Linked DNA regions of Homo sapiens: region 1 is linked to region 2. The links are contacts of gene promoters, found by promoter capture Hi-C in human tissues and cell types (Jung and others, 2019). All regions are on one chromosome and are shown on one strand. Each heading gives the region's core, a stretch centred on a gene start or on the middle of the fragment in contact. The rest is flanking DNA. Distances are from core to core; before and after follow the strand shown. Region 1 overlaps SPNS2 (SPNS lysolipid transporter 2, sphingosine-1-phosphate). Region 2 holds the start of GGT6 (gamma-glutamyltransferase 6).

Region 1 (7,280 bases), core at 3,202-5,701, 41 kb after region 2:
AATCAATAACACAGCTTGTCAGATGGTGGCAAGTGCTACAGAGGGTGGGAGGGGCTGAAACAGGAGCTTGGAAGGGTGTGTGTGAGAGCAAGTGGATGCCACGATTTTATATTTTTTGAGACAACAGTCTCACTCTATCACCCATGCTAGAGTGCAATGGTGCAATCTCCGCTCACTGCAACCTCTGCCTCAGCCTCACGAGTAGCTGGCATTACAGGCACACACCATCACGCTCTGCTGATTTTTGTATTTTTAGTAGAGACGGGGTTTCACCGTGTTGGCTAGGCTGGTCTCCAACTCCTGACCTCAGGTGATCCACCTGCCTCGGCCTCCCAAAGTGCTGGGACTACAGGCGTGAGCCACCGTGCCTGGCTGAGAGAAATTTATTGATATAGTTAGCTGGTGTTTTATTTGTTTGTGAGACAGTGTCTTGCTCCGTTGCTCAGGCAGCTGGAGTGCAGTGGTGCGATTTCCGCTCACTGCAACCTCCGCCTCCCAGGTTCAAGCAATTCTCCTGCCTTAGCCTCTTGAGTAGCTGGGATTACAGGCGCCTGCCACCACGCCCAGCTAATTTTTGTATTGTTAGTAGAGACGGGGTTTCTCTATGTTGGCCAGCCTGGTCTCAAACTCCTGACCTCAAGTGATCTACCTGCCGCGGCCTCCCAAAGTGTGGGATTACAGGCGTGAGCCACTGCACCCGGCCACCACAATTTTAAATTGAGCGGTCAAAGTGGGTATTTCAGCCAGGACCTGGAGGAGGTAAGGAAACAAATCACGCAATTATTGGGGCAAGAACAGCAAGTGCCTAGGCCCTGGGGCAGGAGTTTACTTAGCATGTTGGAGGAGCAGGAAAGAGGCTGGGGTGGGGCCCCGGAGCCCACTGTGATGACTGTGACGTCCATGGGTGAGAAAGGAAAACATGAGGGGATGTCGAACAAAGGCCGTGACCTGGCTTTGTTCTTCCAGAACAAGAGGTTTAGAAGATTCCACAGGGAGGCCACTGCCAGTGATGGGAGGGGCCTTGGAGGTCCCAGGTGGGATGAAGAGGCCCAGAGCAAGGTAGGGTGGACCCTAGGTCACACAGCGAGGTGGCCCCCCATCCCTCCCCCTGGAAAGCAGTCCCACAGCTGATGGGCAGATGGCCAGACAAAGGCTGGGAGTGACAGACATGGCAGCCAGTTGGCCTCTGACCGCCAGGCTGAATGTGTGCGTGGTCCCGGCTGCTCCTCCGTGGGCCTGAGACCCTGGCGAGATGGGACCTGAGAGAAGAGAAAGAGGGAGGGAGGAAGGAGGAAAAGAGAGAGGTGAAAGAGAGGCGAGAGGGCCAGGCAGAGCTCCCCTGAACCTGGCTGGAGGAGTGACTGCCCCTCTTTTATGCCAGCAAGAACAGGCCAGTGAGTGCGCGTGGGTGGTGGGTGTACGAGCAGACCTGTTAATTCCAGAGGCCTTGGGGAGAATCAGCATGCGGGTGCACAAATCCGGGCATGAGGCACACTCCCTGGGCTCAAATTCACCTCCGCTCCTTCCCAGCCGGTGACCTCAGTCAGGCCACAGCCATTCTGTGTCTCACCTTCAGTGGTGTGCTGATATATGTTTAACTGGCTCTGATAAAGGGTGAGGGGAGCCCTGATGTGGCGTGTTTGCTCATTTCTTTTTTTTCTGAGATGGAGTTTCGCTCTGTCGCCCAGGCTGGAGTGCAGTGGCACCGTCTCAGCTCACTGCAATCTCTGCCTCCCGGGTTCAAGCGATTCTCTTGCCTCGGCCTCCCAAGTAGCTGGGATTATAGGCATCTGCCACCACGCCCGGCTAATTTTTGAATGTTTAGTAGAGACAAGGTTTTGCCATGTTGGCCAGGCTGGTCTCAAACACCTGATCTCAGGTGATCCTCCTGCCTCGGCCTCCCAAAGTGCTGGGATTACAGGGGTGAGCCACCGTGCCCGGCCGTGTTTGCCCATTTCTGTGGTGTAAACACTCCGCCCTGGCTGAGTTCAAGCTACCCACGTCGTGTCACTGATGGGCGTTGGAAAGGGATGTGCGGGGACACGCCATTGTCCAGTGTTTCTACCACACAAATAGAACAGACGCCACTCACCATAGGACCACAGATAACGCTGAAACACAGCAAAATAATTAGGAAGTGAGGACTTTTGAGTAGTTATTACCTTGTTTCTAATTATTTAATTGTAAGCCGATATCATTTAGTTTTTAACAATGGTTGTATTTTACGACTAGCTCACACACCATTCCTGAAATGTTAACAATTGACTCTCATGAGCTGGCCTGAGCCAGCGCCAACATGCCAGCATCCTCATCTGTAAAATGAAGATAAAAATAGCAGCTCTCCAGGGTGGGTCTGGGTGCTGGATAGCACGTGCAAGGTGCTTAATGCCACACCCTGCCCAGAGCAGGCCGGCCTTGGTCAACACTGGGCCCTTGTTTAAATTAGTCAAGGCAGAAATTATTTCCTCACATTTAGAAAAAGAATTTTTCCTGCTGGGCCTGCCTCCAAGGACCTGCCTGAGATCAGATCAGAATGTGGCAGGAGGGAGATTTCCAGTTGCATCAGGACTGACACATGTTGGGGGAGGAGGAGGAATTGTTCTCCCTGTGCCTGTCTGTGCTAGGTGGCAAGTGGACAGAAGGAATCAGAAGAGAAGTTTCCCCCTGTCTGGCCAGGGGCAGATCTTGTTCATAGGTTGCTCTGTTTAAAGGACAACCTATGTTGGGGAACCACCAAGGAGCTCCAGATCCTGCCAGGATAATGAAGAGAGGCTTCCCGGAGGCGGTGGTGACAAAGCTGGGCACTGAAGCATGCATAGGAGTTTACCGCTAAGATAATACTTAACATCAAGAATATACGCTGAAATATAAACTTCAGATCAGCAATATTGTATAATGGTTCACGAGGCATGATGCTTAGTGTTCATGATAACTGCAGTTATTATTTATGGATATATAGGCAAGGCCCAGCATGCAGCCTTGACATATGCACAGATGATCTCTTTTGATTCTGTTCTCTTCATTTTACAGAGGAGACAATGGAGGCCAAAAGAAGTGATGTCACACAGCGAGTGTGCGGCTGAGCCAGAATTTAAATCCCAGTTTGGCAGACTCCAGAGTCCTTGCTCTAAATCACTCCCCAGACTGCCATGCTGGGAAGGGGGAAGGTCCCAGCTGATGTTCCCAAGGTCAGGGAAAGTTCAGGGCCTGCTGAGGACAGCAAGGAGACAGGTCAGGCCATGGCCTGAGGATGCTCAAGAGGAAGCAGCGAGAGATGAGGCTGTGGAGGGAGGACTGGGCTAAAGACCAGGACAGGGTTTGGTGTTTAGAAGGCGGCAGAGAACCACAGCGCGCTCTCTCCACCCCGCCCCCCAACACCATGGTAGGATCCTTGAAAAAGCCCCCTCCCGGGGGGGTGACGAGGGACTGGAGGGACGTGACCCAGACCTTCGCCAGACCCCGGCCATCATGCTCCATTCTCTCCTCTTGCCCACAGTGGAGCAGGAAGCACGGGCCCTTCTTAGCTCTTTCAACCCCTCCCTGGTTTCTGGCTCCTCACTTAGATGGGCAGAAGTCCCCAGGACTGCAGGTGGACTCCTGGCAGAAGCTGGCACGCCCCGTCCCCACCCACCGGCCCCAGCCTGATGAACTTGCCCAAGCACCTACGTGCCCTTAGCTCACCTGATCCTCCCCACGTCCATCCCTATCTAACAGCTGAGGTCACTGAGGCCCCAAGAGGTGGAGGAAGTTGCCCGAGATGACAGACCAAATTAGGAAGGCACAGTCTGGACCAGCCTGCCCCTCAGTGTCTTCCCTTGGGACATGGCAGTCCAGGGTCAGGAGGGAGGTGGGATCCATCACTGCTGCCCTCTCTCTGCTCAGGACAGACAGGAGGGAGGACCCCGCCTGGCCCCCTGGAGGTCACAGGCCATGGAGGGGCCTGAACACAATCAGGGTAGGGACGGGGAGGGGGCTGAGAGAATGTTCCTGGCAGAAGGGACAGGATAGGCGAAGCCTTGCCCATGTGGACTGTGTCCGATGGGGACACAGAGGCCAGCAGGCAACTCTGCTGAGAATAAAGACCAGCCTGGGCTGGGCCTCCAAGCTAGAAGCTTCCCCTGCCCACCACCCCGCAATCCCGTGGTCTTTGTTTGTTTGAGGAGAGCTTTCTGGGCAGACTGGCAGCCCCACCCCTGGTTTTGGTAGGGGCGGCTTTCCCAGCAGTTCCCGCAGGGACATCCTGTGGAGGGTGTGCTGAGCCCACAGGTCTAGGACAATGGAGAGGCAGGGCAGGGAGCCAGGGCCGAGCGGGCAGGGCCGTGACAGCAGGGAGGGAGGGGTCAGACCAGCCCGCCTGCCTCGGGGTCTTGGGCCAGGGCCTCACTCCCTCCTCCTCGCCAGGCTGGCAGGAGGCCGTCAGAAAGCCAGTGCTGTCCACCTCTCACGGCAGCCCAGAGCTCAGAACCCCCACGGGCCCTCGGTGTCCTGGTGGGCAGCCCCAGGACCCCTGTCCATGGTGAGCGGAGCCATCCCCATGGCACACATGGCCTGTATGACCCCAGAAAGCAGTTTTGGAGCAGGAAAGGGCAAGTCTGAGCTTGAGGGAGCCCTGAGCCCCCGCCCTGTGGCCTTGGAGCCTGCATTCAGCCCTTGCTTCGGCCTGGGCTGAGCCACGGCTATTTTTACATGGCTGATCTGTTATTTGGAGAAGACCTACCATCCTCCACATCCTGTGGGCAGGGAGGGTGCTCAGGCAGGCATGGGTGGGGCGGGGGCCAGGCTCTGCCATCCAAGGGACGGCCTGGGCTGGCCAAGCTGACGGAGAATGCTCAGGACAGATGGCCCCATCAGCGCCTGAAAGCTCACCACGCTCAGACTTCCCGGTGGAAGGACGGGAACACCTGCTCTGTGATCCCCTACTCAGGATGTAAACCTTGTGTTGGGCTCTCAGGCCTCAGGGTGAATGAGGTTTTGGGGCCACTCCTTGAAAAGGAGGGCTTTGGGGAACAGCCGCAGGGGCTGCCCGGCTGTGCCTTCAGAACCCAAGTCTGCTGAAGCAGGAGTCGCTGGGCTGGCCAAAGACGGGAGGGGAGAACAGGCAGAAGGAGACTTACCCCCAAAACAGAGGCACTGTCTGGTTTCGGTTTGAGCTGGCTCTTCCTCTGTCCCCACTCTCCCTCCGTTCCCCCATCCCCATCCTGGCACTTCCTCGTGAGCCTACAAACCCCGGCCCTGAGTAGCCTTCAGCTTCCTCTGCTGCCCCTTCCCACACTTGGTCCCAGAATGAATATCCTGAGACACACATCTTTTTTGTTTGTTTGTTTTTGTTTTGTTTTTGAGACGGAGTCTCGCTCTGTCGCCCAGGCTGGAGTGCAGTGGCGCGATCTCGGCTCACTGCAAGCTCCGCCTCCTGGGTTCATGCCATTCCCCTGCCTCAGTCTCCCGAGTAGCGGGATTACAGGCACCCGCCACCACACCCGGCTAATTTTTTGTATTTTTAGCAGAGACGGGGTTTCACCATGTTAGCCAGGATGGTCTCGATCTCCTGACCTCGTGATCCACCCGCCTCAGCCTCCCAAAGTGCTGGGATTACAGGCGTGAGCCACCGCGCCCGGCCCGAGACACACATTTTACACGGACTGCCCTGTTCCAAAACCTTCTCTGGCTCCCTACTGCCCCAAGACAAAACCTACATGCCTTATCTTGGCCTTCAAGCCTTTCACACTCAGACCCTGCCCACTGTCCAGCCTCTTCTCCTTCTGTTCTCCCCATACGCCAACCCATGGCCAATGGGCCACAGGCCACTCGAGTCAGGCAGTGCCACAAACAGCCTTCGTTCTCCCTCACCCTTCCCTGTGTTGCATTGACGCTGATTTCCTCAGATCTAGCTTCTAATTCACTTTTCTTTTCAACTAGGTGTAGTCTACTCATTAACTCACCTAATTATTCCATTTTTTATTTTAATACATATTTTTCACTTCTGGTATTTTCGAATATTAGTCTTTTAAACATTTTCCGGTTCTCTTTTCATAATGTTCTGTTCTTGTCTTACAAGTCCTATCCTTTCCTTTAGAGCTTTGAATATTAAACACACCTAATTTTAAAGTCCCTTTGTGACGAATCTGTTTTCCCATCTTCAGGGTCAGCTGACTCCCTCTCAAAAAAATGAGGGAGAACTGTATGCTCTATTAATTTTTTTTTTTGAGACGGAGTCTTGGTCTTGTTACCCAGGCTGGAGTGCAGTGGTGTGATCTTGGCTCACTGCAACCTCCACCTCTTGGGTTCAAGCGATTCTCCTGCCTCAGCCTCCTGAGTAGCTGAGATTACAGGCGCCCACACCATGCCCAGCTAATTTATGTATTTTAGTAGAGATGGGGTTCACCATGTTGGTTCAGGCTGGTCTCAAACTGCTGACCTCGGGTGATCCACCCGCCTCAGCCTCCCAAAGTGCTGGGATTACAGGTGTGAGCCACCGCGCCTGGCCTGCTCTATTAATTTTGAATTTGAGTTTGTCTTCAGTGGAAATTGTCCCGTGTCCCATGCAGGCTCTGGGTCATGAAGAATTCCCTAAGGAATGGTTTGGGATTTGCTTCTGCCAGGGTCCCTGGAAACAGAGGGGGCCTCTATGGGGAAGGAAGTGGAAGCCCCAGGCCTGTACGGAGCAGGGGCTGGAACTAGCCAGCGCCAGGTGGGAAATGCCCATTCTCGAAAGGGAACTCTACCAGAAAAACTACCCAGCAGCCTGGGGACACAGCTTGGAATCAGGAAGCTTGGATGGAAACAAAATCACCCACGGTTAGAACGAAGAAACCCCAGGCCCGGAAACTGAGCCAGGCGGGCGTTCCCTTGATGAATCTGGGTGATGTGTTCTATGGAAGTTCGTTGCGCCATTCTCACTACTTTTTATGTCTGTTTAAAATTTTTCATGATAAAAATGTTTATATTGAAAATACCGTAACAAGCTTCGAAGACGTTTATCTGGTCCCTAAACACTCTGCATCACTTGGCTTCAATTCTAGCTCCCACTCCGGTTTTTGAGTTCAGCTCTCTGCTTCTGGCATCTGGGAATTTCCCTGCTAGCTTTAGCTGTCAAGCTCAGCTTTGTAATTTCAACATGTTTTCTTGGCATATTTTATCTAGCTTGGAGGGGAAAGGAGGGCTTCACACATCTACTCGATCTCACACACTGACTACAAACTCTAACTCATCCTTCAAAGCCCCATTCAAACGTCTCCTCCTCAGGGAAGTGTTCTCCGCGGCCACCGGCCAGAGCTAGGTGC
Region 2 (5,258 bases), core at 68-2,567:
TTCACACCCAGGGCACTCGTGTCACCAACACTCAGATTAAGAAACAACATCTCGGCCGGGCGCGGTGGCTCACACCCGTAATCCTAGTACTTTTGGGAGGCTGAGGCGGGCGGATCACCTGAGGTCAAGAGTTCAAGACCAGGCTGGCCAACATGGTGAAACCCTGTCTCTACTAAAAATACAAAAAATTAGCCAGGCGTGGTGGCATGTGCCTGTAATCCCAGCTACTCGGGAGGCTGAGGCAGAAGAATTGCTTGAACCCAGGAGGTGGAAGTTGCAGTGAGCTGAGATTGCACCATTGCACTCCAGCCTGGGCAACAAGAATGAAAACTCTGTCAAGAAAGAAAGAAGAGAAAGAAAAGAAAGGTAAAGGAAAAAGGAAAGGAAAGAAAGGAAGGAAAGAAAGGACATCTCCAGCATTCCAGAAACCCCCTGGTACCTCCTCCAGTCACTATCTGACTTCTAAGGGCAGACTGTTGTTGCTCTTTTGTTGTTGCCTGTTTGTGTACTTTGTGTAAATGAAAGCATATAGCGTGCGCTGTCTCCTGCCTGGCTGCTTTCCCTCGTCCTTATGCTTGTCAGACCTGTGTATATTATTGCATATAATTGTAGATCACTCACTCTCTTTGCTGCAGAGTGGTCCATTGTGACTTACATCATTCATTCTAACGATAATGGATGTTTGGGCACTTTCCAATTTGGGACTGTTACAAACAGCACTGTTTTGCAACAAGTCCTTGATGGGAATCCCAGAATGAATTTAGAAATGTTGGTTTCCAGGCTGTGGCGCTACCTTCTGGACAAGAGTCGCAAAACACGCACAGGGAGTTACGAACCAAGTTGCTCCTCAAAGAAACCCAGACCCAGAGTAGCCACAGGCTGAGCCTTGACCCCGGCCAGAGACCAGACACCCCTACGCCAGAACCTAGTCACGTGCAGACTCAAGCACGTGGGAGCTCTGACCCAAGCCACCGTGAAACCGTAGCTCTAATTCAAGTCCACAGTCCCTAGAGTCCCAGGTGGGTGGGATCCATGGGCTACATCCCCCAAGGGGAGGAGCCCAGCAGGTGCCCTGAGTATCAAGGTTGTGGCATTAAGGCTGAACTCCTTCTCGACCTCACTGAGCTGTGGCCCCTTACAGGCAGTCACCCCGGGAACCCTGTCGCGAGAGCTCCTCGGGCCTTGTGTCCTAATGGGGCAGGCTCACATGCAGCCTCCTTGGCCCCGTGCCCTGCCCAGACCTGTTCTGGATTCCACCCCCACCCTTCCCCAAGGTCGCTGCCACCTCCCACCTGCCAGGCTTGGGCAGGGCCTCTGAGACACAGCCGGAAAGGCTGGCAGGCAGGAGGGCTGGGGCGAGCACTGGGGGGCCATGGAGCGGGCAGAAGAGCCCGTGGTCTATCAGAAGCTGCTGCCCTGGGAGCCAAGCTTGGAGTCGGAGGAGGAAGTGGAGGAGGAGGAGACATCAGAGGCGCTGGTTCTAAACCCCCGGAGGCACCAGGACTCTTCCAGGTAAGTAAGGGAGGGGTCTGGGCACCAGGCTCCCCAGGCTTGAGGTTGGCAAGTCCCTCTCTCTGGAGCCCCTCAGGGGGACCAGGCGACTCCCCGCTGGGTTTAGCTCCAGGCACTGTACGGTCAATTTGGGGGAAAACCCAGGCTGTAGCCCGAGACTTGGCCTGACCCAATCAAAAGTCTGTGCATCTGGAGGGACATTTGTACCAAGCCAGCCTCTGTCCCATCTGCTGCTTTGTCAAAGGTCCCCAGCCCCCAAGTCCTGGTGCAGGAGGCACCTGCTGGGCAGGTTGGGGCCTGACTACGCCTGGCTGGGCCTGCTCCCCAGCCCCTTCTCTCCTGCCTGCCACACCCCACTGGGCCTCCCTCCCACCTGAGTGGACTCTGCCCCACCAATCTCCCCTCCAGAGGCTCCCTCCCTAGCTAGGCTCAGTTTCCCCAGATGCTTTCCCATCCCCATGTCTGCCCAAGATGCACCCGCTGCCAAGAAGCCCTTTCTCCTTGGCTGACTTGTGCTCCTCTTGCTAAATCAAACCTTTTGGGAAATATTCCCTGGGGTCTCTTGGGGTCCTTGGGCATCCCTCTGTCCCAGCCGTGGCTCAGGACACCCCCCCTCTGCAGGAACAAGGCTGGCGGGCTGCCCGGAACCTGGGCCCGTGTAGTGGCAGCCCTGCTGCTGCTGGCTGTTGGCTGCTCCCTGGCTGTGAGGCAGCTCCAGAATCAGGGCAGGTCGACAGGAAGCTTGGGCTCTGTGGCCCCTCCACCCGGCGGACACTCCCACGGCCCTGGCGTATACCACCACGGTGCCATCATCAGCCCTGCAGGTCAGTCAGTGCTGGGGGCGGCTTGGGGAGGGGAGGGTCAGGGGTCACCAGCCCAGCCTAGCCCCCCTCCTTGCTGCATGACAGTGCCTTCCTTGCTGCAGCCACATGCTCCCACCTAGGCCGAGAGCTGCTTGTTGCCGGGGGCAACGTCGTGGATGCTGGAGTTGGAGCTGCATTGTGCCTGGCAGTGGTGCATCCTCATGCCACGGGGCTAGGTCAGTGACCCCTGACCCCAGACTGCAACCCCAACCCACAGCCTGATCAGTGACCTGGAACTTAGGGAGTCAGTAGCACTGACCTCAAGACTGCTAAGTGAGCAGGACTTAGGGTTTGGGCAGCAGTCCAACCCCAGGCTATGACCCTTGAGCCCGGGTCTGTGGAACTTTGACCTCAGGCCTGGTCAGTAACTCCTGATCCCAGGCTCAGTCAAGGGATCTTGACTGAAACAAGTCAGTGACCCTTGACCTGCGGCTGCTGAGGGACCCCTCTGTCTCCTGCAGGTGCCATGTTTTGGGGCCTCTTCCACGATAGCTCCTCAGGCAATTCCACGGCCCTGACATCAGGCCCAGCACAGACCCTGGCCCCCGGCCTGGGGCTGCCCGCGGCTCTGCCCACCCTGCACCTGCTGCATGCACGCTTCGGCCGCCTGCCCTGGCCACGCCTGCTAGTGGGCCCCACCACGCTGGCTCAGGAGGGCTTCCTGGTGGACACACCCCTGGCAAGGGCTCTGGTGGCTCGGGGCACAGAAGGCCTCTGTCCACTACTTTGCCATGCTGATGGGACACCCCTGGGCGCTGGGGCCCGAGCCACCAACCCACAACTGGCAGCTGTGCTTCGCAGCGCAGCCCTCGCTCCCACCTCAGACCTTGCTGGGGATGCTCTACTGAGTCTACTGGCGGGAGACCTGGGGGTGGAGGTGCCCTCGGCTGTGCCCAGGCCCACTTTGGAACCAGCAGAGCAGCTACCTGTGCCCCAGGGCATCCTGTTCACCACCCCCAGTCCCTCAGCTGGCCCAGAACTGCTGGCACTGTTGGAGGCAGCCCTGCGCTCCGGGGCGCCCATCCCTGACCCCTGCCCACCGTTCCTGCAGACTGCTGTGAGCCCCGAGAGCAGTGCCCTGGCCGCCGTGGACAGCAGCGGCTCTGTGCTCCTTCTCACCTCCTCGCTCAACTGCTCCTTTGGCTCTGCACACCTGTCCCCAAGCACTGGGGTTCTGCTCAGCAACCTGGTGGCCAAGTCTACCACTAGTGCCTGGGCCTGCCCCCTCATCCTCCGTGGCAGCCTGGATGACACAGAGGCTGATGTGTTGGGGCTTGTGGCTTCAGGGACCCCTGATGTGGCCAGGGCCATGACTCACACCCTACTCAGGCATCTGGCAGCAAGGCCCCCTACCCAGGCCCAGCACCAGCATCAGGGTCAGCAAGAACCAACAGAGCATCCCAGCACTTGTGGCCAAGGGACCCTGCTCCAGGTGGCAGCCCACACAGAGCACGCCCATGTCTCCAGTGTCCCCCATGCCTGCTGCCCCTTCCAGGGGTTCTAACAGGATGGGGGTGGGTCTGGCAGAAGGCAGAGTTATCTGAAGCATGGGGGCAGGAGCAGAGCAGACACAGCAGCAATGGAGTGTGCACCCGCAGGGTGTGGTGCCTCACACCTGTAATCTCAGCACTTTGGGTGGTCAAGGCAGGAAGATACCTCGAGGCCAGGAGTTTGAAACTAGCCTAGACAACAAAGCAAGATCTCATCTGTACTAAAAATTTAAAAATTTGCCAGGGGCGGTGGCACATGCCTGTTGTCCCAGCTGCTTGGGAGGCTGAGGCAGGAAGCTCGCTTGAGCTCAGGAGTTCAAGGCTGCAGAGAGCTAGGATCACACCACTGCACTCCAGCCTGGACAACAGAGTGAGAACCTGTCTTTAAAATAATAATAATAATAATAAAAAAATAGCTGGGTGCGGTGGCTCATGCCTGTAATCCCAGCACTTTGGGAGGCCAAGGCAGGTGGATCACCTGAGGCTAGGAGTTCGAGACCAGCTTGGGCAACATGGCGAAACCCCGTCTCTACTAAAAATACAAAAAATTAGCTGGGCATGGTGGCGGGCACCTGTAATCCCAGCTACTTGGGAGGCTGAGGCAGGAGAATCACTTGAACCCGAGAGGTGGAGGTTGCAGTGAACCAAGATCGCACCATTGCAACCCCACCTGGGCAACAAGAGGGAAACCCTGTCTAAAAAAAAAAAAAAAAAAAAGGATTTATTATGTGCTCACTGCTGGCTCAGGCCCCAACCTCTGGCCTTTTAAGTTACCTAGACTTGAGTTCTGGCATCCAGAGCTAACAATCATTCTTCAGATCACCCACACCGGATGGAATCTCTAGCTATTTTATCAGCTAAGAAAATCAGGGTAATAACGAAAAAGCAGTAGGGCCTGGGGCTAGCACTGAGTTCAGATCCAGCTTTCAGGAGGACAGTGGAAAGAGTGCAGAGCCTCTGCCTAGGCCCTGGGCCCCACGAAGCAGGACAGGCAGAGCCCAGGGTACTGTTGGCATCTCTGTCCTTCCCTTCAGGACACCCCTTACCTATCTGCCTCAACCAGACTGGGTACAAAATAAAGATCAAGTCTCCCGGAAACCAAGCACCATTCCTGCTTCTTGGTTAATTTTCCAACAGCTTTTGAAGCAACTGGAGTCAGGGCTTCCCTGATGGGCAGCACAGGTGACCAACAACCAGAGAGGGGAGAGCCTGGGTTGGTATCTTTCAGCTTCCCCCTGCTCCGCTCACCTCCTGCCTCCTGGGGCACCAGATGTGCAAGGTGAATGTTTTCATTTCACTTTCTAGAACAGACAGCAAAGCAGGGAAGCGGCTGAGAGGGTGAGAAGGCGCCCCAGGGGCTTGGGTACAAAGGGGTTGGAGTTGAGCGTGTGGA

What was found. The method cuts DNA at HindIII sites, captures the fragments that hold promoters and counts their contacts. A contact is called where the count stands out against the background at its distance.
Region 1: a contact is called between a fragment that was not itself captured here and the fragment with the promoter of GGT6 in region 2, in 1 of the 25 tissues and cell types used here (pancreas).

The regions. Positions count from the first base shown.
Region 1 is chr17:4,516,580-4,523,859 of GRCh38, reverse strand. The region is part of intron 2 of SPNS2 (SPNS lysolipid transporter 2, sphingosine-1-phosphate); the gene reads right to left. Among named protein-coding and RNA genes, the nearest start is that of SPNS2, 21 kb to the right of the region's middle. The HindIII fragment of the contact is 4,831 bases long and covers 2,036-6,866 here.
Region 2 is chr17:4,556,636-4,561,893 of GRCh38, reverse strand. GGT6 (gamma-glutamyltransferase 6) reads left to right here and starts at 1,317. Exons shown (of 4, transcript NM_001288702.2): 1 at 1,317-1,512; 2 at 2,134-2,336; 3 at 2,438-2,551; 4 at 2,837-4,967. The coding sequence starts at 1,373. The coding sequence ends at 3,879. The HindIII fragment of the contact is 6,687 bases long and covers 1-1,841 here.